Regions from separate parts of the Homo sapiens genome. Here region 1 is linked to region 2. The links are contacts of gene promoters, found by promoter capture Hi-C in blood cells and fetal thymus (Javierre and others, 2016). All regions are on one chromosome and are shown on one strand. The core of a region is centred on a gene start or on the middle of the fragment in contact, and the rest is flanking DNA. Distances in the headings are between cores, read along the strand shown. Region 1 holds the start of RB1CC1 (RB1 inducible coiled-coil 1). Region 2 holds the start of RAB2A (RAB2A, member RAS oncogene family).

Region 1 (5,600 bases), core at 1,722-4,221, 7.8 Mb before region 2:
CACCCCTTACTTCTCTTGGGCCTTTATTCAAAAGGCAATCAGTGGCCGGGCTTTGGGAGTCCGAGGCAGGCAGATCACCTGAGGTCAGGAGTTCAAGACCAGCCTGGCCAACATGGTAAAACCCCGTCTCTACTCAAGAACAATTACTTAAACATTTTTATGTTCCTCATGTAACTAGTTCAAAAACCTCACAGTGGTAAAAAGATAATAAAAGAATCGTGAAAGTGTGTTGAAAGGGACTGCTAGATTTTCAAAGTGTCTTAGGCCAGTATTACTACAAAAGAAAAGTGTAACTGGAGTCAGAAAATATCATTACCTGAATGAGAAAATTTTATCAGCCATTCTTTTAAAAAGATATTCATAAGACATACACATCTGCAAAGTAAAGCATGTAGGTGCTCAAATATCTGCTGAATGTATGATATAAAATTTTAAGTTAATATTAGAGTCTAAAAACTTTTCTCAGGCTAACATAATCAAAATTTAGGTTCAAAATTTCGAAAACAAAAGTCTTGTGTCTTCTGCCTTTATGAACTTGATTTGCTAAAGTAAATCTGCCATGCATCCTGATCTTGTGTTTGGCAGCAAGAGCCAAAAAAAAAAAAAAAAAAAACTCAGGGACAAAAGTACCGCTTCATTGTCTTCCCTGTCGTCCAATAACAAACATATAAAGGATTAGGTACATAAATAATCATATCTTGATTACCATAAAAAGTTCAAAATAGACTAAATAAAATTACTTTAAAAATATGAACTATGTCAATATCCACTTTCCATCAACAGAGGTTTCTCAACGTAAGCATTATGTGCCTAAAGCATCCCTGACATAAAACTTTATCCAGGTTTTGAACACAATCACAAACATTAAAAGACATGACAGGAATGTTATTGAGAAAATATCTTCATTAGGGCCATATTCTGTTACAACAAATATAAAAAGCGAACATATTTTCACATTCCTAGCAATGGTCTGCTTATAAATCCAATAATCCAAAAACTAAAATCAGCCACCTCCCTCAGTAGTTCCTTGGTTTCTCACAGTTTTATCTGATCAGAAGTGGAAGGACCCTCTTTTTATCGTCTATCACAATGTAATAACATTCTTGATTAAACACACAATTAAGTCTACTTAAGTCTCTTCCTAAATTGCTAACTGTCCAAACTTATGTATAAATCATACAAGCTTCACCAAAACACAAAAACTTAAGAAACTACACAATAAAATAGTTAGCAAATAGGTACACTTTAAATGTTTGCAGCAGACTTGAGAACATTCCCATCTGGCTGAATGTCTCGTAGTAACGTGACTCTTTATCAACAGTGAGCACATGAGTCTTCCTTGGCAGCCAAGTCTACACTACTTCAAGGTATGACCACACTTTAAAGAGTCATGATGGAAACGACTAGATTACGAAACCATAAACAGTAAACACAGCACATCCACCAGGCGGTGGAAGAAACTATAGAGATATTCCATTCAGAAGCTGCTATTTCTACTGTTGGTTAATGTATTTTTGTTTCTACCAAGGAAGCTGTGAAATCCGCGTGCACACCCATCCCAAATCTATCCGTGGGGCGGGCGCAGGCTGAGTCATTCCTAGGAGTAACTTTATACCGATCCTCGCACTCTGGGGTCGGGACAAAGACATCATCTCTCCGTTCCTCCCATTCGGTGAGCTTCGTTCGGCCTCGGCCAAACTCCACTCTCCCGTTTCTCGAGTCCAACACAGAATTAAGGGCTGATCCCTGGCAGCGATGAGCACAAGTCAAGATGCGTCTTGGGAGGTTCGGACGTCCCTCGCCCTCGGCCACTCCGGCAACTAGGCCGGGTACTAAGCGGCAGCGCAGAGGGAGGGATCCCAAGGCTCCGGCCGAGGAAGCCGCAGGCAGCCCCGCAGCACGAGTCCGACCCACACCTCCGGCAGCCTAGTGGAGCATCGACTCGAACCGCTTTTGTCTCCACAGGGGCTGTCGCGCCGGGAAAGCGGCCAGTGGGCAACACCTGCCGGGGCGGGAGGCGCCGGGGCCCTCCCGTGCACACACCTGCGCGTGGGCCGGGCTCAGGCCGACCGGAACCCTGGACCATGCGACCCCGGCCCACCGTGCCAGGGCCCGCCGCGCGACCGCTGTGCCAGATGGGGGAAGGGGACGCGGGCGGCGGCGACACTTACCCGGCAACGCCTCCTCCTTCGCCGGCGGCAGCAGCAGAGCCAGCGACCCCCGGCACCATCTTCCGCCGCCGCCTAGTCCTCGGCAGCGGTTACCAACCGCCCATTCGGCACCGCTAAGCCGACACAACCGCCGGCGTCCCGGGCGCCCGCCCGCCGCGGCCCCGAACTCTAGGAGGCAGGGAGGGGTCCGGGCGGACAAGGACGCGAGCAGGCCCCTCGGCTCTGGGTCTGGGGCCGGGGGACAGAAGGCCGCGGCCTGTCAGAGCCGAGGGGCCCAGGCGACTGGGGGATTCTGAGGCAACGCCGAGGGCTCGGCAGGGCCGCGGACACCGCCGCGGCTTGGTTTGTTATTGTCGACTCCGTCTCTTCCTCCGCGGCGCATGCCGGGAAACGGCCTGCCGGGGGAGGGGCGCGCCTGGAGGCGCAGAGAGGCGTCTACGCAGGTCCGGAAGTCGGCAGCCTGCCGGGAAGGGGGCGGCCCCGCCTCCGGCTCTCCGGCCGGCAGGTTGGCTGTCCTGGCCTGACCCTGGGAGACTCCGCTGGGGCCGCCTGTTATGGTGCTAGCTGCCGTCCCGGTGCGTACTTTCCCAAGGTGAATTTGACCTTCTTTGCGACAGCTAGGCCCTGACTAAGGTCGACCCACCAAACACTGGATCGTCCCCAGGCGAAAGAGAGCTTGTTCCCCTCAGCCTGTCGCGGAGGAGCGGAGCCAATCGAGGGTCTGGTGTCCCCGTCGCCTCTCCAGGGGCAACCTGCGGACTAGGCCAAGGTCTGTAACAGGATAACGTACCAGCGCCTGGCCCAGGCGTTCCTGCCGCCACCTCCCCGCATATCCGGACCGCCGGGACTGCACGCAGCTGGCAAGCGTCCCCCTGTTAACTCTGCAAGGGTGGGGCGGCACCATTTCTCAGACCAGGTAAGGCAAGAAAACATGCAAGAGAGAAGAGAGGGAAGCCTAGGCCAATCGGAATGAAAATGTAAACGCCACAACCACGTTTTCAGCTTTACAAATACTGAATCTTGTAGTGGGTCTAGTGGGTTAGGGGTTAGCATGAGCACCCTAATGGTTGGGAGACAGTTTCAGGGGACTCTTGCATTTGTGAAGATGATCAGTCACAGGCAATGACTTGAAGCCACGAGGCTTGAATATTAAAATCTGATGAGCAGATGTTACACGTAGAATAATTACATAATAGTTCTCAAATTCCTGTTATATCCAGGAATATCTGGTATGAGTGAAAACTTGGAGGTGCCTTCTCTAAAGTCATCAGGAATTCTGAGTTGTGTTTGTAAAAATAGGAGGCACAAGAGGGCACCAAACTGAACAAAATGTTAGGTGGAAACTGAAAAACGTTGGTTAGCATGAACAATTTCAGTTTTCAGTCACACTGACCAGTATCTGTAAGTTAGGATTGAGATGGGCTTGTTTTATTTATTTACTTTTAAATTTGTGCTGCTACATATCCCAAACAAATGTGGTCTTTATCATCACTGGCAAGCCATTTTACTTATTGGTTAAGCTGGAATTTTATTACACCACCCCAGCAAGATAGAGGAGAAAAGCGAAAATTAAGTAGTAAATGGTTATTATGCCTTAAGGGAAGGTGTGAACTGGCAAGACAAAAGAGCCAAATTTAGTAGTAAAGCATAGTCATCAGCACACAGAAAATAAGTGGTGAGGAGGAGTTTGGCCAGAAAATTGGCTAAGAAAAATGGCAGTATGACCAAGAATGAAAAGAAAAAGAAAGAAAAGAAAAACTGCAGTATGAGGCCTGTAAAGAACGTATTGGTACTTGCACTTCCTCTTATTAGTGACATTCATTATTACAAATATAACCCAATTTAGAATGTAAAAATCTTGCTGGAGCTCGGTGCAGTGGCTCACACCTGGAATCCCAGCACTTATGGGAGGCCGAGGCAGGAGGATTGCTTGAGCCCAGGAGTTGGAGACCAGCCTGGGCAACGTAGTGAAACCCCTTCTCTACAAAAAATACAAAAATTAGCTGGGCGTGGTGATGCACACCTGTGGTCCCAGTTACTCAGAAGGCTGAGGTGGGAGAATCAGTTGAGCCCAGGAGGTCGAGGCTGCAGTGAACCATCATGGCACCACTGCACTCCTAGCCTGGACAACAGATTGTTGCCCTGTCTGAAAAATAAAAAAAAATTTCTGAACTATGCCAGTGATAATCTGGTAAATTATAAATGTTGTCTGACTTTTTTCTTTGGAAAATGAATTAATTCAGTCCTAACCTTCTCTCTTAATCACAGGTTGCAATAAATTACCAGAAACGACTGGTTCATACCTTATACACCTCCAGTGTAAATGTTAAGAGTTTGTATATTCTTAACAGACTCTTAACAAACATCAGTAATTCTTTCCTAGGGATAAGTGAAAATGTACTAACATTAATTCTATTATATATATGCAAATATCTAGAGGAAATACTGTTTATAAGTTACTAATACATGTATCCATGGTAGTAGGTCTTGAAAAGTTACTTTTGTTGCCTATTGGACACCCTCTATTCTCCCTTCCTTAATAAAACAAAAAAAAGAACAAACAAAATTCTGTAGCATCACTTCTCAACCAAGCTTTCTGATAGGAAGTCCTCAGTCCAATCTCATTTTTGGCCTACTGTGCATTTCTTACTTAACTTGCAAACAGATCATTAACAAGGACCTCCAAATTACAGTAAATTACAGTACTAAGATTTTACTTGAACTTTCTAAAGCATTCGCCATTTTAAATTATTTAACTTTTATACTCCTCCTTCCCTTTTGTGCTGTTTCCTTCCTGGCGCTCCTAAATATCTGTCCATTCTTTGGACCTCTTCCAAATTTTCAGATAATTATAATAGTGTGCGAATGATGCAAAGGTAATGTGCCGTGGGAGAGAACAGAAGAGAGAAACCTAATTCTGGCCTCATCACATTATTGTTTTTTTAAATTTAATAACTATTTTAGATGCTTCAGTAGATTTACAGTGAGGGCAAAAGAAAACAGTTTTCTTTAGGAGTATGGAGGGATTATATAGGATGTACAATAAATACCCTAAGTACTTCAAATCAGTTCAGATCTTTAAAATCCTATTTTTCCTTCAGTTCTCAACTTCAATATCACCTACTCTGGGAGTCATTCCCTACCATGCTTGTTTGTTTGTTTGTTTGTTTGTTTGTTTGTTTTGAGACAGAGTCTCACTCTGTTGCCCAAGCTGGAGTGCAGTGACACCATCTCTGCTCACCGCAGCCTCTACCTCCCAGGTTCAAACGATTCTCTTGTCTCAGCCTCCCTAGTAACTGGGATTACAGGCACTTGCCACCACTCCCGGCTACTTTTCATACTTTTATTAGATGGGGTTTCACCGTGTTGGCCAGGCTGGTCTCGAACTCCTGATCTCAAGTGATCCACCCGCTTCAGCCTCCCCCACAG
Region 2 (5,656 bases), core at 3,138-5,637:
TGGTCAACATGGCAAAACCCCATCTCTACTAAAAATACAAAAATTAGTCGGGTATGGTGGTGTGCACCTACAGTCCCAGCTACTTGGGAGGCTGAGGCATGAGAATCGCTTGAACTCAGGAGGTGGAGCTTGCAGTGAGCTGAAATCGCACCACTGCACTCTAGCCTGGGTGACAGAGAGAGACTTTTTCTAAAAAACAAACAAACAAACAAACTGGTACTGAGTTTAAGTATTTGCTGGAAAATTAGTTCTGTTATGGTACTTGGAGATGGCTGAAGGAAGGCATTTCACAATTGTTCTTAATTATTTCTGGGTCATGGAAGAATCTCTCCCATAAAAGTGTACATGTGCAAATATATACATCATTATCAGTTTTGCATACCATTTCAGAAGGAGTGGCTAAGGAACCATGGAAACCAAGGCAAAAACCTCAAGATTACAGTATTCCCAACCACCTTCTCCCATTCCACTCCACCCTATCCCTCTTCCCAAAGCCTGAGAGTAATTAAAACCAAAGAAAATATAAACATGAAAGTTTAGTTGGGAGAAGCAAATGCAAACTTCTAATATAGTATTGTACTCAAAAATGTCATGGAGAACTTGATTAGGAGACACTGAAGAATGTAGTGCTACAATCTTGAAATTTCACAGTTATGACCTTCAGACCATATATGATGTAAGGCTGAGAGACAGAGTTACCACAACACATCCTAAGAGACTGAAAATAGCCGAAAATCAAACTGAATGGAAAATTCCAGGAAGTATACTATATTTAATGGAAGAGAGGTTTATTTCTGTTATTTTGTCTGGGGGACTTTTCTTGAAAAATATGTTTGGATTTTTATGGGCTAAAGAAAATGTTTTAAATGAGGTTTATGTGATTTTTATTTATACCCTGTATTTTTTCGAAGATTTAAGAGATTATAGGTTTATAGAAAATATAACAAAATATTATGAATCATACATAGGAAAAAAGGTAGAGACATAAAATAGAGCCAGGAACAAACTTAATTTTAAACCATGAATTTATATAGTGATTAGGCCTTTAGTTCCTCAAGTTAATTTCTTTTTTTTCTTTTTAATTTTCTGTAGAGACAGGATCTCACCATGTAACCCATGCTGATCTTCTTGAACTCCAAGGCTCAAGGGATCCTCCAGACTTTGCCTCCCAAAGTGTTGGAATTACATGCATGAGCCACCGCACTCAGCCCCTCAAGTAATTTCCAAAAATTATGCAGTGCAAAGAGTTTTATGTATTAGGTATACATTTTTCATAATTTACACAGTATTTTCACATACATTATCTCATTTGATCCTAAATGGACTTTGTTAAGCAGTTATTATCCACATATTCCAAATAAGGAAACTGAAGCCCAGAGAAGAACTTGAAAATCCTGTTCTTCAAGGTGGGAGAATTGCTTGAGGCCAGTAGTTCAAGACCAGCCTGAGTAACAGAGGGAGTCTCCATCTCTCCAAATAATAATAATAATAATAAATGATATAGGCGTGGTGGCATGTGCCTGTGATCCCAGCTACTCAGGAGGCTGAGGCAGGACAATCACCTGAGCCCAGGAAGTCAAGACAGCAGTAAGCCATGACTGGGTCACTGTACTCCAGCCTAGATGACAGAGCAAGACCTCCTCTCAATCAATCAATCAATCAATCAGAACAATATGCATTTGACATCTATGGCCCCTGCATTTTCACGAGAGGATTACTACCTTCTTTACAGATGGCTTTAGATTTGGAGGCTGGCTAAGCATAAAATTAAAAGACGTCATGCTTGGAATAGCCCTTTTAAGAAACACTTAACTCCTTTACTTAATAGACAAGTGCACTGAACCACTCATAATTTTTTAAATTATTTTTATTTTAATAATTATTTTATTTATTAAGACACAAGGTCTCAATCTATAGCCCAAGCTGGAGTGCAGTCGCACCATCCTAGCTCACTGCTGCCTCAAACTGCTTGGCTCAAGCTATCCTCCCTCTTCAGCCTCCCAAGTAGCTGGGACCGCAGGCACAAGCCATCGCAACCTGTGCTCTGAAGCTTTAAGAGGCCAAACGATTCCTCACATTCATCCGATCAGTTACAGGTAGAGCCAAGACCAGAAGCCAGGTATCCTATTTTCCTTATAACACATTGCCTCTATAGCTTTATATCCATTTCTATGATTTTTGTTACATACCCAGTTCTGACCATTTCCTGTCACAATTTCCTTTGTCTACTAAGTAAAGTTCTAAATGCATGGTGACATAACATACAAGGCCCTACATAACCTGGCACAAGAGACCTCTCCAGGTACTCTCCTCCTCTAACAGTGTAGGAATACTCCTGACTCCTAGGATGCCAGGCATTTGTATAACATCCTAATAGAGTTGTGCTGGTGAAGGAAGGCCACATCCCTCTATCTTGTGAGAGTGAAGACTTGAGTTTCTCCATCACCAAGGAAGACTTGGGTGAAGGCACTCAAGTGGGAGGGACAAAATGACATCTGAAAACTGGAGGCCTTGGGCAGGGACCTCCCCTTCCTCAAACTAAAGGTGAATGAACCAAATTTTGCGATTCCAGGTAGCTTTTCATGTCAAATTTTCATGTCAAATTCTTCCGTGCCATCTCTGACCCTTTAGTAAAATCCCCTCCAAATATTCCAGAAAAACCTTGTGAGTTCATATTTGGCAAGGCCATCCAAAGCATGTTAGCAACCCAGCATGATGGTGTCAGTACTAATTACATAATGAGAGGCCCCAAAGAGAAGAGTATTAGGCAACAGGAACGAGGGCCACTAAATCCCAATCGCTTTTCCCCAGCAATGATTCTCCTTCAATATGAGGTTATGGGTTATGAGGATATGAGTTAGTCAATTAGCTTCCTTATGCAACTTCAAATTCCCTGAACAGATCCAGGAATTTTGCACATTCTGTTCCTTGTCCATAAACTTTGGTTCCCCTCCCCAAACTGTTGTTCTTTCGACAAACTCTATACATAATTCATATTCCTGGCTCAGAAATCATAATCTCTAAGTAACCTTTCCTGACACCCTATTCTCCACCTCCTCTTCCATAACCTGTGGTCTTTTTGAACAGAGTGGTGACATTTTGGGCTGGATGACTGAAAAAGCAAAGTAGAAAAACAGAACATAGAACATACAGGGCCTCCAGTTGCTGTGCCTGGCGGTACATGAAACATAGTATTCAATAACTATTCTTTGAATGCACAGTCATTTTGTTTTTTCCTTTAACAGTATTTCCTAATAGGTAACTCATGAACACTGCAAAAAATGTCAAACTGCACAAAAAAATTCAGGGAAAAGTACATTTTCCCCCCAATCCCATTCCCTCCTTTCTCTTAATACCAGTTAGCTTTCCTTTCAGATTGATTATGCATATATGGGTATGTAAATGTTTTCCCACTATTTGTTACACATAAAAATTATATACAATTCATATATTACATATGGTGCATGTTATATACACACACATAAACAGATCATCTCGGTTTTGCTTAACCTAAGTCAGGCTTTTTTTTTTTTTTTTTTTTTAGAGCAGCCCTCAGAACCAGGACAGGTTCAGAGACTTTATTTATTTTTTATTTACTATTATTATTTTGAGACGGAGTCCCGCTCTGTCGCCCAGTCTGGAGTGCCGTGGTTCAATCTCGGCTCACTACAACCTCCACCTCCCAGGTTCAAGTGATTCTCCTGCCTTAGACTCCGAGTAGCTGGGATTACAGGCGAGCACCACCACGCCCGGCTAATGTATTTTTAGTAGAGACGCGGTTTCGCCATGTTGGCCAGGCTGGTCTCGAACTCCTGACCTCAGGTGAGAGCAACGTAGTACTCCACTGTGCGTGCATACCATGATTTACTTTGCAGTCCCAGATTTACGGTTTCCAATTTATAAATACTGCCATTTTCACCTTCAAGCCCCGATGCCAAACACAGAAATACCAGGCCACCCCCACCCCCTCGCCGTGTGCCTCCCACATTTTCACACACATTTTCAGGAGCCCAGGGCGCAGCCTCACACCGAACGCCGCCTCTGCCGTCCCCTCACTTGCCCCGTGCCCCCACCGCAGGGCTGAAGGCGACGGAACCGAGCCTTTGTACCCCCACCAGCCCCGTTCCCTGGCGTCTCCCGGCCGCCGGGCTCGCCCGCTCAAACGTGGCGGAACAACCGGAGCCGGGCCCCGCCCTGCTGGAAGACAGGGCGGACCGGGCAAGGCAGGCGCGGGGCGGGGCGGGGCGGGGCTCCGGCTGGCGGGGCGCGGCCAGCGTGCAGGGCTGGGCCAGCGTGCGGGGCTCCTCCCCTTTCCTCCGGCGGCGCCGGCGGCCGCAGAACTTCCGGGTCGGCGCGGAGGCGGGGCGGAGGCGCCGCGGCGGCTGTTATTGTTCGGCTGGGCTCGGTCGGGCGCTGTCTCCCTCGGCTCTGCGGGTGTCAGTTCGTCCGGCTTCCTCACAGCCCCTCACTCCCGGCGGCTGACAGCAGCAGCGGCGGCGGCGGGCGGCGCCTGGCGTTTCGAGGCTGAGCGGCACCGGGGTTGGGGCGCGGAGGAGGAGCAGCAGCGGGAGGAGGAGCCGTGTGCCCTGGCACTGAGCGGCCGCGGCCATGGCGTACGCCTATCTCTTCAAGTACATCATAATCGGCGACACAGGTGAGGGCCCCGGGCGCGGCCGGGCGGGTGTCGGCGGCCTCCGGACCCGGGCTGAGGGGCAAACGGCGTCTGGCGGTGGCGGGGACGCGGACTCCACCCGGCGCCTCCCTCCTGGCCGCGCCGCTCCATTTCCGCAGTGCTGGAGCTGGTGACGTGGGCACTGCGAGCGGCCGCGGCCTGGCCAGGCCCGGTCTGCGGCCCCCGACCCGGCCAGTCTTGCAGCTGAGGGCCGTGGCAGCCGTTTGCGACGCCCGATTCAGGAAGTGTGTGACAGGAGGGGAGGCCTAGCGCAGGGCCGCCGGGGCCCGACTCACATGACTGCACCCCACCCCCAGGGCCCCTTGCGTTAGGTCTCTTCGCGGCCCCAGGAAAAAGAAGGAGGGAAACCTAGGGGAGCAGAAGGTGTTGGGGCCCGGGTCTTGGTTCCTGACCAGTCCAACCTTCCTCCACCAGCACGCATCTATCAAGGCCTGGGCAAGGCGCTTTTTGGCGTGGGACAGGCAGCCGAGAAAGAGAAAAGGAAACCTTTAAAATATGTATTTTATATATATACATATATATAAAATATGCTTTTTTAACACCTTCAACTCTCACGTCAGAATAAGTCACATCTCATTACTTGACGGCTGGAGAATCCCTTTCGGGGTTAGGAAAGCATGAACGAGTTCTGTGGACTTTTGCCACGTGTGAACTGGGGTTATATAGTAATGTAAAGTCGTTCAGTGCTCTGGGTGTGTACTTAGGTATGTGTATGTTGAGGACGCTGATGTTTTAGATATGTCAAGTCCGGTGTCACAACTGCTAATTTTCAGGTGAGCTCATGTCCATGAGCTGAAAGAAATTCAGTTATTCTCACTTAAAATGACGTCCTAGTATATTTCACAGAAAAGTAAACAGACTCTTCGTAGATATTTTTAATACCTGTGATTTGGCATTACTTTGAATCTAATAATAAACATAAAGATTGTTTAGATGTTGCAACTATTAATATACCAGAGTCTG

The links. The method cuts DNA at HindIII sites, captures the fragments that hold promoters and counts their contacts. A CHiCAGO score of 5 or more calls a contact.
Region 1: a fragment that was not itself captured here is called in contact with the fragment with the promoter of RAB2A in region 2 in 1 of 17 cell types (non-activated CD4 T cells); the score reaches 5.9 in non-activated CD4 T cells.

What each region holds. Positions count from the first base shown.
Region 1 is chr8:52,711,904-52,717,503 of GRCh38, forward strand. It overlaps RB1CC1 (RB1 inducible coiled-coil 1), which reads right to left and starts at 2,532. Exons shown (of 24, transcript NM_014781.5): 1 at 2,172-2,532. RefSeq lists silencers at 1,987-2,456, 2,487-2,656 and enhancers at 2,717-3,026, 3,047-3,096. The HindIII fragment of the contact is 3,580 bases long and covers 1,182-4,761 here.
Region 2 is chr8:60,512,600-60,518,255 of GRCh38, forward strand. RAB2A (RAB2A, member RAS oncogene family) reads left to right here and starts at 4,388. Exons shown (of 8, transcript NM_002865.3): 1 at 4,388-4,654. The coding sequence starts at 4,609. LOC124901949 (a long non-coding RNA gene) reads left to right here. Exons shown (of 3, transcript XR_007060922.1): 3 at 1,093-4,199. RefSeq lists enhancers at 3,536-4,396, 5,632-5,656 and a silencer at 3,972-4,841. The HindIII fragment of the contact is 4,226 bases long and covers 2,049-5,656 here.